Regions from separate parts of the Homo sapiens genome. Here regions 2 and 3 are each linked to region 1. The links are contacts of gene promoters, found by promoter capture Hi-C in human tissues and cell types (Jung and others, 2019). All regions are on one chromosome and are shown on one strand. Each heading gives the region's core, a stretch centred on a gene start or on the middle of the fragment in contact. The rest is flanking DNA. Distances are from core to core; before and after follow the strand shown. Region 1 holds the start of NUP210L (nucleoporin 210 like). Region 2 holds the start of AQP10 (aquaporin 10). Region 3 overlaps GATAD2B (GATA zinc finger domain containing 2B).

Region 1 (4,602 bases), core at 2,028-4,527:
GAGAAAATGCTGTCCGGGCACGGTGGCTCACACCTATAATCCCAGCACTTTGGGAGGCTGAGGCAGGTAGATCACCTGAGGTCGGGAGTTTGAGACCAGCCTGACCAACATGGAGAAACCCCCTTTCTACTAAAAATACAAAAATTAGCCAGGTGTGGTGGCAGTGCGCCTGTAATCCCAGCTACTCAAGAGGCTGAGCCAGGAGAATCGCTTGAACCTGGGAGACAGAGGTTACAGTGAGCCAAGATCACGCCACTGCACTCCAGCCTGGGCAACAAAAGCGAAACTCCGTCTCAAAAAAAAAAAAAAAAAGAAAGAAAGAAAGAAAAAATGAAAATCCTGCCTAATACTCTTCATTTTTATTTTATTTTATTTTATTTTATTTTGTTTTATTGAGATGGAGACTCCCTCTGTCGCCCCGCTGGAGTGCAGTGGCACAATCTTGGCTCACTGCAACCTGTGTCTCCCGGGTTCAAGCGATTCTCCTGCCTCAGCCTCCCTGAGTAGCTGGGACTACAGGTGTGCGCCACCACGCCCGGCTAATTTTTTTGTATTTTTAGTAGAGACGAGGTTTTACCATGTTGGCCAGGCTGGTCTCAAATTCCCCACCTCAGGTGATCCACCCACCTCGGCCTCCCAAAGTGGGGGGATTACAGGCGCGAGCCACCGCCCCCAGCCATAATTTTTTTTTTTTTTTTGTAGAGATAGGTCTCACTCTGTTACCCAGACTGTTCTTAAACTCCTGAGCTCAAGCAATCTTTCTGCCTCAGCCTCCCAAAGTGCTGGGATTAAAGGCGTGAGCCACTGCAGCCAGCTAGGAATCATTTATTCTCCCTTTGATCATTTGAAGCCAACACCATTTGTGTTAACTATCTATACAAAATACCAGATTATTCTACCCCAGAAGAAGTGATACATAGTGTTTTTGCTCTCAACATACCTATTTCTCGAGCAAGAATAATACTGCTGAGGCGTATCGGTTGCGTAGATTCAGCAATGAGTACAGCTTTTTGGGAACACAAGGTGCCATTTTCATATAAAGGCTCAACAGTAACTGCATCATGATGGGTGGAATGCCTGCCAGAACAAAATTCTTAAGAGTGTGAAATAGGTGGGTTAAAATTAACTTTTAGTGGAACATAGATTCTCACACTTCTTCCATGTTACATACTACCAGGTATATGTAAATGACACTTTTTAAAGAAGGAACATTGCTTAGGGATGCGATAATTAAACTGAGAGATTGATGAGAACTTTCCCAATGATCCCTTGAACAAAGTCCCAGAAATATCCCTCCCTCAATTTTTTTTAAAAGATTTTTATATTCTTCCCTCAGTATGCAGAAATACGACTGATGTGTTTCTAGTAATGAGAGGGGACTTTCTCATACTCTGAGGAAAGTTTCCTTCAATCCTAGAAACCAGGCTTCTGATATCTAGGATGGAAAAGGTGCCTAAATTATGAGGTGTGAGTCCAACTCAAAATACCAAAAACATTCATAAATATTTTTATTCTTATTTATTATTATGTTTTTGAGACCGAGTCACTTTGTTGCCCAAGCTGAAGTGCAGCAGGGCGATCTCAGCTCACTGCAACATTCGCCTCCAGGGTTCAAGCGATTCTCCTGCCTCAGCCTCTCGAGTAGCTGAGATTACAGGTGTCTGCCACTATGCCCGACTAATTTTTGTATTTTTAGTAGGGATGGGCTTTCATCATGTTGGCCAGGCTGGTCTTGAACTCCTGACTTCAAGTGATCTGCCTGCCCCGGCCTCCCAAAGTGCTGGGATTACAGGCGTGAGCCACTGCGCCCGGCCGAATGTTTTTATTTTAAATAGAGACGGGGTCTCACTATGTTGATCCGGCTGGTCTCAAACTCCTGGCCTCAAGTAATCCTCCTGCCTTGGCCTCCCAAAGTGCTGGGATTACAGGCGTGAGCCACCATGCCTGGCCTCATTAATATTTTTGGAGTGATAGAAGAAATGGCTTTCAATGCTGGAAAGATGCCTTGCATCACCCTCACGGTCAGGAAACACACACGTCACACTGGATCATCTTACAAGCTCACTTTCCTTATACTTCCTCATAAAATGAGAGGTGAATTTATACTCGGAACAAACCTCATTGCTTCTCCTAGGAGATGGCAAAGGGGTATCTACTCCATCTAGGATGAATGCACTGGCATCCTGAAGCTCACTTCGGTTAGGTTCTCTCATACCTTAGGCAACCACATAACCCATCATTGGGTCCTCTCACACCAGAAAATCATGTCTCTTCATCTTCAGTCAGGAAGTCATTATCCCGGAGTTGTGTGTACCCCCTGTCCTCACACTTCAAGCGGGTACCCTTTTATAAATGGGGCAATTTTGATAATACAGACAGATCTCATCTCCACCCACGATAAATCTTCTCATATTCCCAGAAGTTTACACTTCATAGTCTCTGGGCCTCACTTTCCTCGTCTGTGAAATGGGAGTAATAGTACTTACTTCATAAGACTGCAAAAAGCGAATGAGTTAACACATGTAAAGTGCTTAGTTAACCCCCAATACTTGGCTGTTGTGTTTTAAGTCCTTCTCACATTGAATAGCTCATCTATAGTTAGTGGGGACCCTCGCACCCCAAGTTTTCCTGTTCCTACAGAAATTTCCTCAGATATGGGGAACTTCCTCTTACTCTAGTTGTTTACATTGGAAGTCATCAGTACCTGTGGCCTCCAACACAGGGCTTCCCTTTACCCTGACGGCTGCTCATAGTGACCACCCCTTCCCAACACACACAGAGAAGAGGCCAGTCCCACATCCCGAGAATTCCTCACACGTCTGGAAGATTGTCACACAGCTGGAGGATATACCACATGAGTAGGACACGCCACACCCAAGGGTCTGCTCCTCGCCACCTTCACTGACACCACACTCTCCTCCCCTACCGGCTAGGCCCCTTCACGCGGCCCCACACGGTATTCCTGTGGGATCTTACAGAGGGAACCCCCCTCACCCTTACTGGATGGTAGTGAGGGTGCATATCCTTGTCACCCACCACCCCTCACCAAGTGTAGCAGCCCCGCTGGGCCTCCAGCAGGAAAGGCACCCGGCCTGGCTCTCGGCCGAAGGGTAGCAACACCTGTGGCACGTTAAGTTTGTTGGCCAGGGTCCCACGCAAAACCAGAAACAACAACAGGAGGCGGTGTAGACGCAAGAAGAAAAAGAGCCCGAAGCCTCGGCGTCTTGATGACGCCGGACAGCCAGTCATGGCGACTGCCAGGTCTCGGGTTCCCGCTCAACTACAGCCGGCTCACAGCTCCATCAGCCAATCCACAGGCGTGACGTCAGCAGAGGGGGATGGGACCTGCTTCTTGCTCGGATGTGTGGGCATTTTTAAATGCAGTCCTTCAGCAAGCCAATATAATGGAAACTTTTGGCACAAACCCAGCTAAAACACCTCAAACTCTCTTAAAGGGCTTTCCTAAATACTGGATGGCAGACCTTTTTAACAGTAAGGAACAAGCAGAAAAGTCTAAAAAAAACCCTTTAATTTCTTCCAGTTTTAATTTCTTCTGTTGCACACTGTTTATCTTAACACCACACCCTCCGCCCGACAAAAAAACTTTTTGCAATGATTTCCAGTTAGCATTGGTCCATGCCTATCAACGGAAAATTGTGCAGTCTCTGGGATAAACAGCTCGACTTTGTCAAGGGAACCGTGTATTTTTACTAGAAGTCAGATTCACGTCCGGCCTCCAGGCCAGAATGCAGGAAATGCCAGACACTGGCGTCTCAAAAGCAGCTTTCAAAGTTATCCACTCACACAGCCGGCCTCTAAGCAAATACTCTTGAGAGCACTTGTTGTTTTCTCCAAATATCCAAACAGAATATAAACTCAAAGCTGTTTCAGTACAGTTGGTTAAAACCACGCATTTATAGTAGTGATCAGCATTATATATTGTTTTAAGGAGCATAAATCCATAGTTTATAAGGATTGATATGGTTGTGAAGGAAAATGTATATAGTTCAGCCTGAGATGTCAGTGTTAACCTATAAAAGGCCCAGCACATTAAGTGTTCTTTCTAATCTTCATGTTTACTCTGACAATACTTATCTCCATTTTACAGATGATAAAACTAAACATTTGCTCTATATTAAATCCTGTTGCTCCAGCTGGGTGCGGTGGCTCACGCCCGTAATCCCAGCATTTTGGGAAGCTGAGGCAGGTGGATCACCTGAAGGTCAGGAGTTCGAGACCAGCCTGGCCAACATGGTGAAGCCCTGTCTCTACTTAAAATATAAAAAATTACCCGGGCATGGTGGCAGGTGCCTGTAATCCCAGCTACTCGGGAGGCTGAGGCAGGAGAATCTCTTGAACCAGGAGGCGGAGGTTGCAGTGAGCCGAGATCGAGCCATTACGCTCCAGCCCAGGCAACAAGAATGAAACTTCATCTCAAAAATAATAATAATAAAGAATAAATCCTGTTGCTACCACCCACAAAGATGCTATTTTTAACCCAAACCTCATAGCTTCTGTGGAGAAAGCACATTTAGTTTTAATAAATAAAAGTCAAATAGGTCTGAGGGTTGGAGGGACTGGTTCTTTATTTCAAAAAGACAC
Region 2 (5,038 bases), core at 1,735-4,234, 170 kb after region 1:
GTTACAGGCACCCGCCACCACATCTGGCTATTTTTTTTGTATTTTTTAGTAGAGACAGTGTTGCACCATGTTGGCCAGGCTGGTCTGAACTCCTGACCTCAGGTGATCCGCCTGCCTCAGCCTCCCAAAGTGTTGGGATTACAGGCATGAGCCATCCCGCCTGGCCCATACCAACACTTTCCAACTGAGCTCCTCTCTACCACGAATATGAGAGATTCTAAGAGTTAGGCAAAAATATCATCGCCCCTATTCATCCTGAAGAACTTACAGAAGATGGACCTTCGTCCCTCTGCAACCCTTAGGATTAGTGCTTCTCTTATAAAAGGAAGGGGGGAAATGTCAGAGGCACGTGAACCAGAGCAAGTCTATTTTGAACAAGAGCTGAGTAAAATGAGAATGAGACTTACTGGGCTGCATTCCCAGATGGTTAAAGCATTCTAAGTTACAGAATGAGATAGGAGGTTGCCATAAGATACAGGTCATGGCCGGGCATGGTGGCTCATGCCATGACAGTTTATAAATGCCATGACAATGACAGGAAGTTACCCTATATGGTCTAAAAAGGGGAGGCATGAATAATCCACCTCTTGTTTAGCATATCATCAAGAAACAACCATAAACATGGGCAACCAGCAGCCCTCGGGGCTGCTCTGTCTATGGAGTAGCCATTGTTTTATTCCTTTACTTTCCTAATAAACTTGCTTTCACTTTACTCTATGGACTCGCCCTGAATTCTTTTTTTCTTTTTTTTGAGGCGGAGTCTCGTTCTGTCACCCAGGCTGGAGTGCAGTGGTGCGATCTCGGCTCACTGCAACCTCCACCTCCCGGGTTCATGCCATTCTCCTGCCTCAGCCTCCCAAGTAGCTGGGACTACAGGCGCCCACCACCATGCCCGGCTAATTTTTTTGTATTTTTAATGGAGACGGGGTTTCACCATGTTAGCCAGGATGGTCTCAATCTCCTGACTTTGTGATCCCGCCTTGGCCTCCCAAAGTGCTAGGATTACAGGCATGAGCCGCCGCACTCAGCCTGAATTATTTCTAGTGTGAGATCCAAGAACCCTCTCTTGGGATCTGGATTCAGACCCCTTTCCTGTAACAAGATTAGGCACCAGGAGAAACTGACACACATGGATGATATAACAGATGCCTAAATGGATCCTATGGGGGAACTGGAGCTGGAACAGCCCTTTAGAGTTGTCGCAAAGTGAGGCAAAGAGGCTAGACTTTTATATCCCTCCATCAATCAGTGTTTGACATGGGCCCCATAGGAGGGCATGTAACCTTCGGTGAGGCATCTTTCTGACTTGAAGGGCATTGCCCAATGAGGGAGGTAGCTATGTGGTATCAGCAGCTGGTATTTCCTACATGTAGCGAATGGGCATATTGGCTCCCAAGGGGGAATCTGGGTGGAGCACTATAGTATCCATTAAACCTAGTAAAGAAATATTATTTCTTTACTAGTCACACAGATGTGCCCAGGACAGTGGTAGAGCCCACAGGGTTACATAAATCATAATGGTAGCCCTCAAGAACTTCATAAACTGTATATGGTATTTTAAAAAGTTGCATATTGTCTGTTTCCACCTACTAGAACATAAGCTCTAGGAGGGCAGAGACTATGTTTTGTTCACCACTGTTTCTCCAGTGTCTAGACGTAGATTCTTTGAATGCATTTAATTGGAGCCTTGAGATATGAAGAAGTAGGATGCGGTTACTTCATGCAGAGCAAGAGTGGCATGCACCCAGAGAAGGCCAGGTGGAGCTCAGCATGAGTGTGAAGGCCTCATGTCAAGCCATGTCAGGGGACACAAAGATGGAGTATTCTCTAACCTATGTGACACTCGGCATAAGGGAAGTACAAGCACTCAATATGTGAGTTTCATTCCCACAGTCTGTGGTCTTTAGCCCAGTCTTTCCAGATGCCTATTGAGTTCTTCAAGCATCCAAATGGTTTGGGGTAAGGCTTCAGGTTCTAAATGAGAGGCTTTGTGGGTTACCAGCTGGAGAGTCAGAAAATCTGGATTTGAATTCACTCAGCCATGAAATAATTGTGTGATCTTGGGCCGGGCACGGTGGCTCACGCTTGTAATCCCAGCACTTTGGGAGGCCAAGGAAGGTGAATCACTAGAGGTCAGGAGTTTGAGACCAGCCTGGCCAACATGGTGAAACCCCGTCTTTTTTTTTTTTTTTTTTTTTGAGACAAAGTCTCGCTCTGTTGCCAGGCTGGAGTGCAGTGGCACAATCTCGGCTCACTGCAACCTCCGCCTCCCTGGTTCAAGTGATTCCCCTGCCTCAGCCTCCCGAGTAGCTGGGACTACAGGCGTGCACCACCACGCTAATTTTTTTGTATTTTAGTAGAGATGGAGTTTCACCATGTTGGCCAGGATAGTCTTGATCTCCTGACCTCGTGATCTGCCTGCCTCGGCCTCCCGAGAAACCAAGTCTTTACTAAAAAATATCAAAATTAGCCAGGTGTGATGGACCTGTAGTCCCATCTACTTGGGAGGCTGAGGCAGGAGAATTGCTTGAACCTGGGAGGTGGAGGTTGCAGTAAGCTGAGATGGTGCCACTGCACTCCAGCCTGGGGGACAGAGCAAGACTCTCTCTCAGAAAAAAAAAAAAAAAAAGTTTGATCTTGGGGAGTTCTAAGGCCCACTAGCCTCATCTGTAGAATGGAAGCAATAGTACTACTTTGCAGAGCTGACTTCAGGACCAAGAGATCTAATGTCTATGAAGCGGGGTACTTCCTTCTATTTGTCAGGATGGGGGAGGCTAGTCCTGTGATGACTGGGAATGAAGGGTAAAAGAGACAGAGGTTGGGTAAACTCCAGGCTCTGTGTTCATAGCCTGCTCCCAGACATTCTCTTGTTATCTCTCTGTTTCCTAGCCTACACACGTGCACAGACACGTAGCTGCTGTTCAGGAACTGAGCTAATGGTTTTAAAGTCTGTTCCTTATCTTTGCTGGAGGCAGGCAGTAGCTGTGCAGTGACAGTGTGCCTATGCAGACAGAGGGAGCAGTGAATAGCAATAGGGTGTTTCCACCATGGTCTTCACTCAGGCCCCGGCTGAAATCATGGGCCACCTCCGGATACGCAGCCTCCTGGCCCGGCAGTGCCTGGCAGAGTTTCTGGGTGTGTTTGTACTCATGGTAGGTAGGATCACTGCGGGAAGGAAAGAAGGGGGTTGGGCAAAAGTTCCTGGCTCCTTCTGTTGTCCTTATCTCTTTCTCTTGGTGTCCCCCTTCCTCTCAACTCCCTATCACTTTTCGTTTTTATCCTCTCGTCTCTCCTAATCTCCTTTCCTCTCCTACTTCATCATTTTTATTCTTGTCATTTTTATTCTTTCTTTAATAACAAGTGTATCATAGTTCTTGAAACATAATTTTTCTCTCTTCAGTTTCCCATTTTTATGAAAGACCATTTTCATGGTAAGACCAATGTGCTTTATTATACTTGGCCTGATGATTGTATAAAGTGCAGCAAGAATAATTATTTTTCACATAGGCTTTTAAAATTGGCTTTGATGGAACTCTTCCATAGAAAGAATCTTAGATAAGACTTTTTAAAGCTGAGCCCTGCCATGGGTTTGTACCCTCAAATGCCTATGAGTTGGGTAAATTCTTTTCTTTTTTCCCACATTCTTTCCCTTTCTTCTTCCTCCACTTTCCCCATTTCTTTTCCCTTCCCTCCTTCTGCTTTTCTCCTTCCCTTGCTTGTCTTCTGTGCTCATTCATCTCCTTGGCTGCTCCCCTGGCCTTCCCAACCTTTCTCCCTGTTGGTCTCCTGGGCTCCCTGTTCCTCATCTCTCCTCTTCTCAGCAGCTCCTCACCCAAGGAGCTGTGGCCCAGGCTGTCACCAGTGGAGAAACCAAAGGCAACTTCTTCACCATGTTTCTGGCTGGCTCTCTGGCCGTTACGATAGCCATCTACGTGGGTGGTAACGTCTCAGGTGAGGAGGGTGGGGTCTGGTCATCAGAGCACGTGGGATGTGCATGCCAGTTTGTCTGTCTGGTGATGGTGGAAACGCAAATCCTTCTGTGACTCGTGGACATTATCCCCTTGAACAGTGTCCCAGACTGAAATAAGCCTTTGGCCCCACCAGCCCCTCCTCTTTCTGTATCTCTCCATCCTGCTTCCTCACACTAATGCTTGGCTCACCTAGACAGAAATCAATGGCAGGGCACGAAGGGCAGCTGCTATCCTCTTGTATCCCCCACCTGAAGTCCTCTGGGGGCTCATCTCCACTCAGGACCTCTCCTGTTTGTACCCCAGATACACACTGCATCGGTGTGCTTGGGTGGAGCCTTGAGACATAGTGTGTTGCTGTGGAAAAAGCAGACAGACCTAGGTTCCAACTTTGGATTCACAGTGTCTTCTTCTTTTTTTTTTTTTTTTTTCTTTTTTTTTGAGATGGAGTTTCACTCTGTTGCCCAGGCTGGAGAGCAGTGGTGTGATGTCTGTTCACTGCAACCTCTGCCCCTGGGTTCACGCGATTCTCCTGCCTCAGCATCCCGAATAGCTGATTTTACAGGCACCTGCTACCACGCCTGGCTAATATTTGTGTTTTTAGTGGAAACGGGGTTTCACCATGTTGGCCAGGCTGGTCTGGAATTCCTGACCTCAAGTGATCCACTGCCTCGGCCTCCCAAAGTGCTGGGATTACAGGCGTGAGCCACTGTGCCTGGCCCACAGTGTGACTTTGCTAAGTCACTTAACATCTGTAACATCTGGAGCCTCAATTTCCTAAGCTGTGTGATGAGAATTACACTATCTGCCTTAAGAGCTATAGGAAGGAGCAGTAGTGTTGTCTGGTGACAATGCCTGGCAGTGACACTTAATAGATGCTCTTTTTCTTTCCTTGATACTTGAAGGGGCCCACCTGAATCCAGCCTTCTCCCTGGCCATGTGCATCGTTGGACGCCTCCCCTGGGTCAAGCTCCCCATTTACATCTTGGTGCAGTTGCTGTCTGCTTTCTGTGCTTCGGGAGCCACCTATGTTCTCTACCATGGTGACAGAGGGAACAGAGGGAGCTGTG
Region 3 (4,971 bases), core at 227-2,726, 240 kb before region 1:
GAAGAAGCTAGATTCAGAAATATTTAGAAAGTAATAGGTAAGACAGAAGTGACAATGATGCTCACATTTCTGGTTTAGATGACTCAATGAATCACAGGGAAGAAATGATGTTGGAAATGTTGAGTTTGAGTACCAACTTGATACAAAGGTATAGATACGTCTAGCTCACAGTAGACAACCGGAAACAAAGGGCTGGAGTTTAGGAGAGAAATGATAATATATTGAATATATATGAAGTTTTTTTCAATAATCAAGTGTATTTTACCATTTTAACGGGAAGGCAATAATTTCATCATTATTTGCATTATGCTTTAAAGTTCACAAAACATTTTATGCTTGTATTTCATACTTTTGTTACATACAAACATGAGATTAGTATGACAGGTTATTTTTATTCCTATTGGATCAACAAACTTTTATTTGTTTATTTATTTATTTTTGAGAGAGAGTCTCACTCTGTTGACCAGGCTAGAGCACAGTGGCACAATCTCGGCTCACTGCAACCTCTGCCTCCCGGGTTCAAGCTATTCTCTGCCTCAGCCCCCCGAGTAGCTGGGATTACAGGCGCCCACCACCATGTCTGGCTAATTTTTGTATTATTAGTAGAGATGGGGTTTCACCATTTTGGCCAGGCGGGTCTTGAACTCCTGACCTCGTGATCTACCCCCCTCGGCCTCCCAAAGTACTAGGAATACAGGTGTGAGCCCCCGCACCCGGCCTATTTTTTTTTGAAACTGAGTCACACGCTGTCACCCAGGCTGGAGTGCAATGGCACGATCTCAGCTCACTGCAACCTCCACCTCCTGGGTTCAAGCAATTCTCTGCCTCAGCCTCCCGAGTAGCTGGGATTACAGGCAACTGCCACCATGTCTGGCTAATTTTTGTATTTTTAGTAGAGATGGGGTTTCACCATCTCGGCCAGGCTGGTCTTGAACTCCTGACCTCATGATACACCCGCCTCGGCCTCCCAAAGTGCTGGGATTTCAGGTGTGAGCCACCATGCCCCACATATCTTTTTTTTTTTTTGAAACTGAGTCTCACGCTATCACCCAGGCTGGAGTGCAATGGTGCAATCTCGACTCACTGCAACCTCCACCTCCCAGGTTCAAGCTATTCTCCTGCCTCGGCCTCTCAAGTAGCTGGGATTACAGGTGCCCACTGCCACGCCCAGCTAATTTTTGTATTTTTAGTAGACACGGGGTTTCACCATGTTGGCTAGGCTGGTCTCGAACTCCTGACCTCATGTGATCCGCCCGCCTCAGCCTCCCAAAGTGCTGGGATTACAGGCATGAGCCACCAACCCCGGCCAACAAACATTTATTATTAACTACATGCCAGGCACTGTACTAGGCACTAAACAAATTACCAAAACAAATCCATGCCTTCTAAGACCTACATCATAGAAAGAGAACCAATAGGCAATAAATGTAACAAATAAATATATTATAAAAGTGTTAAGTCCTATGAAAAAGAAAATAGAGCAGGCAAGGATAAGCATGAGGGATGGGAACTGACAATACAATTTTAAAGAAAGGAAGGATAAGACTTCATTAAAAAGGTGACATTTAAGCAAAGACGTTAAGGAGGTGAGGCAATCAGCCATTCTCTGTGGGGAAACCTAGCTGTTTTCCCACTAGAAGGAATCACTTGGTCTTAGGAACCTGCCAAGGTTCTAAGATAGAGTGTGACTGATCAGCATTCAAGGAGCAAGTCAGTGTGGCTGGAATGGAGAGAGCAAGAGGGAAGATGACAGCCGATCAAAAATGGAAGAGGTTGGGGAGGGCAAACCATGTAAAGCCTTAAAGGCTATTGCAAGGACTGGCATTACTCTGTCTGCAAGAAATGAGAATTCAAAAATTAGTAGCATTACCCAAAATCAGTTAGCTAATAAATCACAAAGCTAGAATTCAACCCAGGACTTCAAGGCTCTCCACAACCTGTGTTCCACTAGTCCAATCTGCCACATATTAGTTCATCCCCTCTCTTTCAGCAAGTTTGAGTTTAAATACTCTAAAAATGCTAACATTATAAAAATCCTCTGGGCAAGAGATGCACAAGTCTTTCAGTTAACATTTGCAATCCTTCACAATTATAATGAGAATTTATTAATCCTGGTGTCTAATCTAAATCCTACTAACATTCCAGCATGTATTTTTAAAGATTATAAATTCCACCCTCCCTTGAAATGAGACAAGCCGAAGAAAGCTTTGATCAAAAGATTTAAAGTACGACTCTCAGCTTTAGGTAACAGTAACCTGAATTATTTTTTTAAATGGATACTAAGGCCGGGCACAATGGCTCCATGCCTGTAATCCCAGCACTTTGGGAGGCTGAGGTGGGCAGATCACCTGAGGTCAGGAGTTCGAGACCAGCCTGGCCAACATGGTGAAACCGTCTCTACTAAAAATACAAAAATTAGCCAGGCATGGTGACAGGTGACTGTAATCCCAGCTACTTGGGAGGTTGAGGCAGGAGAATCACTTGAACCCAGGAGGCAGAGGTTGCACTGAGCTGAGATCACACCACTGCACTCCAGCCTGGGCAACAAGAGCAAAACTCCATCTCAAAAAATATAAAATAAAATAAAATAAAATGGAACTAGCCAGGTGTGAAAAACAGTAAGAGAATGGCTCAGGAATATGGAATTGCTATAATTTCCCTTAATTTCTTTAGCAGTTTACTAGTTATTATTAATAACAAGTTCACACATTGTCAAAGATGCTTCTGCAGTTACTATGATTCTTTGAGGTCTGGATCTGACCACTTCATATCTCAAAAGTAACGAATGATGTGTTCTTAGTAATCTGCTGCTTTTTGTACTATAACCCAAAACTGTTGATAGTTTCTTGCCAGCTGATGGCAACCTAGGTAAATGGCAAAGGTAAGGGGGATTTTGTGAGAGACAGCAAACATTACCAAGCCACCATCTAAATACCTCAGACAGGTTAAAAGCCCTAATGACCCTGGGACACTCCCTTCTTACTGGATGAATTCAAGCTATACAGGAATATTTCATATATCCACAAGGGAGAAGGTAAAAGATGGAACATGAGGAGGGGTCTGTTTCAAATCAGACCTATTCTTCAGAAGCTTTCATCACTGCTACACAAAGAAAGGAGGTTGCTGCTTCAAGGATTCTGGAGCCACCAAAATCCCCAAACAGGACCTACAGAAAAAGCTTCACAGAGACTACTGAGGATAAACCAAATAATATGGCTAATAGAAGATACACCACAAAATCCAGTCATTGTAACATAAACTGAACTTCCTTATATATCTTTTCCTAGGCTTAGCCAAAAGCAGGAGAACTGCAACTCTATGTGGTATTGTCTGATAGACTGGATTTTTTCCCCAAGCAAGAGGTGGACAGCTTTATGCCAGGACTAGATTTACAGTCAATCTGGGTGTGTGTCTTTACTTTTTCTTTCCCTCCAAACTACCTCAGAAAATGTCTGGCTATTGTGCCTTGATATGTAATAATGCAGGGCTTTAAGTACTGCAAAGGTCTGGAAAAGAAAGTCCCTCAGTCCCAGTTATGGCTCAAATCTTACGATTTCTCTAGCAGTTGTTTTAATCAACCAAAGCTGGTTGGCTTTTCTCAATGAGCCAAGCAACATGAGCCTTCTAAGTTAAGCGCAGAGGGGCTGCTTGTCAGCATGACTCCCAATGGGGTGGCTAACATGGAATATGCTCCAGAGTCTAGAAATCAGGACAGCACAGCTGCTGTTTTCCTCCACATGCACCTCCAGCTTGGTGGGTGGGGGAGGAAAGGAAGAAGAATCAGTAAATTGAAACAGGAGGAATGCTTTACATGCAACACACAAGACTCACTGCTTAAAGGTGAGATGAATTCAGAGGTCTCAACACATGATTAGGATACCTTCACTGACACAATGGTCCCCAAAATTCAACCTGGAGGTCCAGCCTTGCCCGTCTGGCAAAAAAAGGGGAGAAGGGGGCAAAACCCCAAAATGGGGGACAGCATACAAGCTTTTGAAAGTACTTTAAGGTTGTGAGGCTCAGAACAAATTCCTCACACTTCCCTCTGCCACCACCCTGTGGCCCTATGCTAAGCACAGCAGTAAAAGTTACTGCCAGAATTTAGATTTGAAGGGCTGATCAGGGAACCTGGTTAACACTGTTCCTAGAAAAGTATTTGAGTGCAGCCTATATTCAGACCCTACTGGGACTGCCTCTAAACAGGAAGTTAACACACATCACATACGGTCAGGGAAGGCAAACCACAGTGTCATAAAGATGGATGCTGCTGTCAACTACAAATCACTCTCACCTCATGGAGAGTGTTCTCAAGTAAGGAATAATAGGCAGGACAAAAGTCTGTAAGCCTCACCTCTACTCAAACTGGGTCACTCAGCCTATAGATTCAGCCTTCTGATTCCTGCTGATTAGTACTTTTCTACCTTGTTCCATGATGACTATCACTGCCACTGGACTAAAAAAACTCTATTCCCCTAAAAAGTGAAGACAGCCTTACCATCAACTAGTTATTCATATAAGCTATCTGCTTATATGAATCCGATCCTTGACCCAGTCCATTCCCAAATGGCCAGGGACTAGATATCCGTCACAAAAAAAGCAGCACGATCCAACAAGTGTGGGCCTTCCCTCAAAATATACTGAACTCCTCCATAGCACCTCCAGAAGTGGCCTCCTTCCCAACTAAGTACTGACAGAAATACTACTCTAGGACAATACTTGAAAGGCTGCTCCAGCACCAAAATAAGAATCCAAGTTATCAGACTGCAAGGAAGAGTTCAGGTCAGCATACCAAATGAAAAGCAATAAAGTTAGCACTAAACTCCCAAACAGGATAATCACCAACAACATATAGGCACCATGCTGCTGCCAGAAAACATCAAAGTCATCTGTGCTAGGAGGGGAAGGAGACTAGATGGCTGGAGGACAGAGATGGGAAGGAAGCTTACTTTTCACTTTGTACAACCACATGCA

The links. The method cuts DNA at HindIII sites, captures the fragments that hold promoters and counts their contacts. A contact is called where the count stands out against the background at its distance.
Region 2: a contact is called between the fragment with the promoter of AQP10 here and the fragment with the promoter of NUP210L in region 1, in 1 of the 25 tissues and cell types used here (aorta).
Region 3: a contact is called between a fragment that was not itself captured here and the fragment with the promoter of NUP210L in region 1, in 1 of the 25 tissues and cell types used here (adrenal gland).

The regions. Positions count from the first base shown.
Region 1 is chr1:154,151,796-154,156,397 of GRCh38, forward strand. NUP210L (nucleoporin 210 like) reads right to left here and starts at 3,278. Exons shown (of 40, transcript NM_207308.3): 1 at 3,047-3,278; 2 at 941-1,077. The coding sequence starts at 3,249. It also overlaps a transcript of TPM3 not described here. RefSeq lists enhancers at 2,611-3,111, 3,112-3,612 and a silencer at 4,219-4,396. The HindIII fragment of the contact is 16,458 bases long and covers 1-4,602 here.
Region 2 is chr1:154,318,109-154,323,146 of GRCh38, forward strand. It overlaps AQP10 (aquaporin 10), which reads left to right and starts at 2,985. Exons shown (of 6, transcript NM_080429.3): 1 at 2,985-3,152; 2 at 3,825-3,951; 3 at 4,874-5,011. The coding sequence starts at 3,048. RefSeq lists a silencer at 2,764-2,955. The HindIII fragment of the contact is 14,849 bases long and covers 1-5,038 here.
Region 3 is chr1:153,916,387-153,921,357 of GRCh38, forward strand. The region is part of intron 1 of GATAD2B (GATA zinc finger domain containing 2B); the gene reads right to left. Among named protein-coding and RNA genes, the nearest start is that of GATAD2B, 4.1 kb to the right of the region's middle. The HindIII fragment of the contact is 5,978 bases long and covers 1-4,465 here.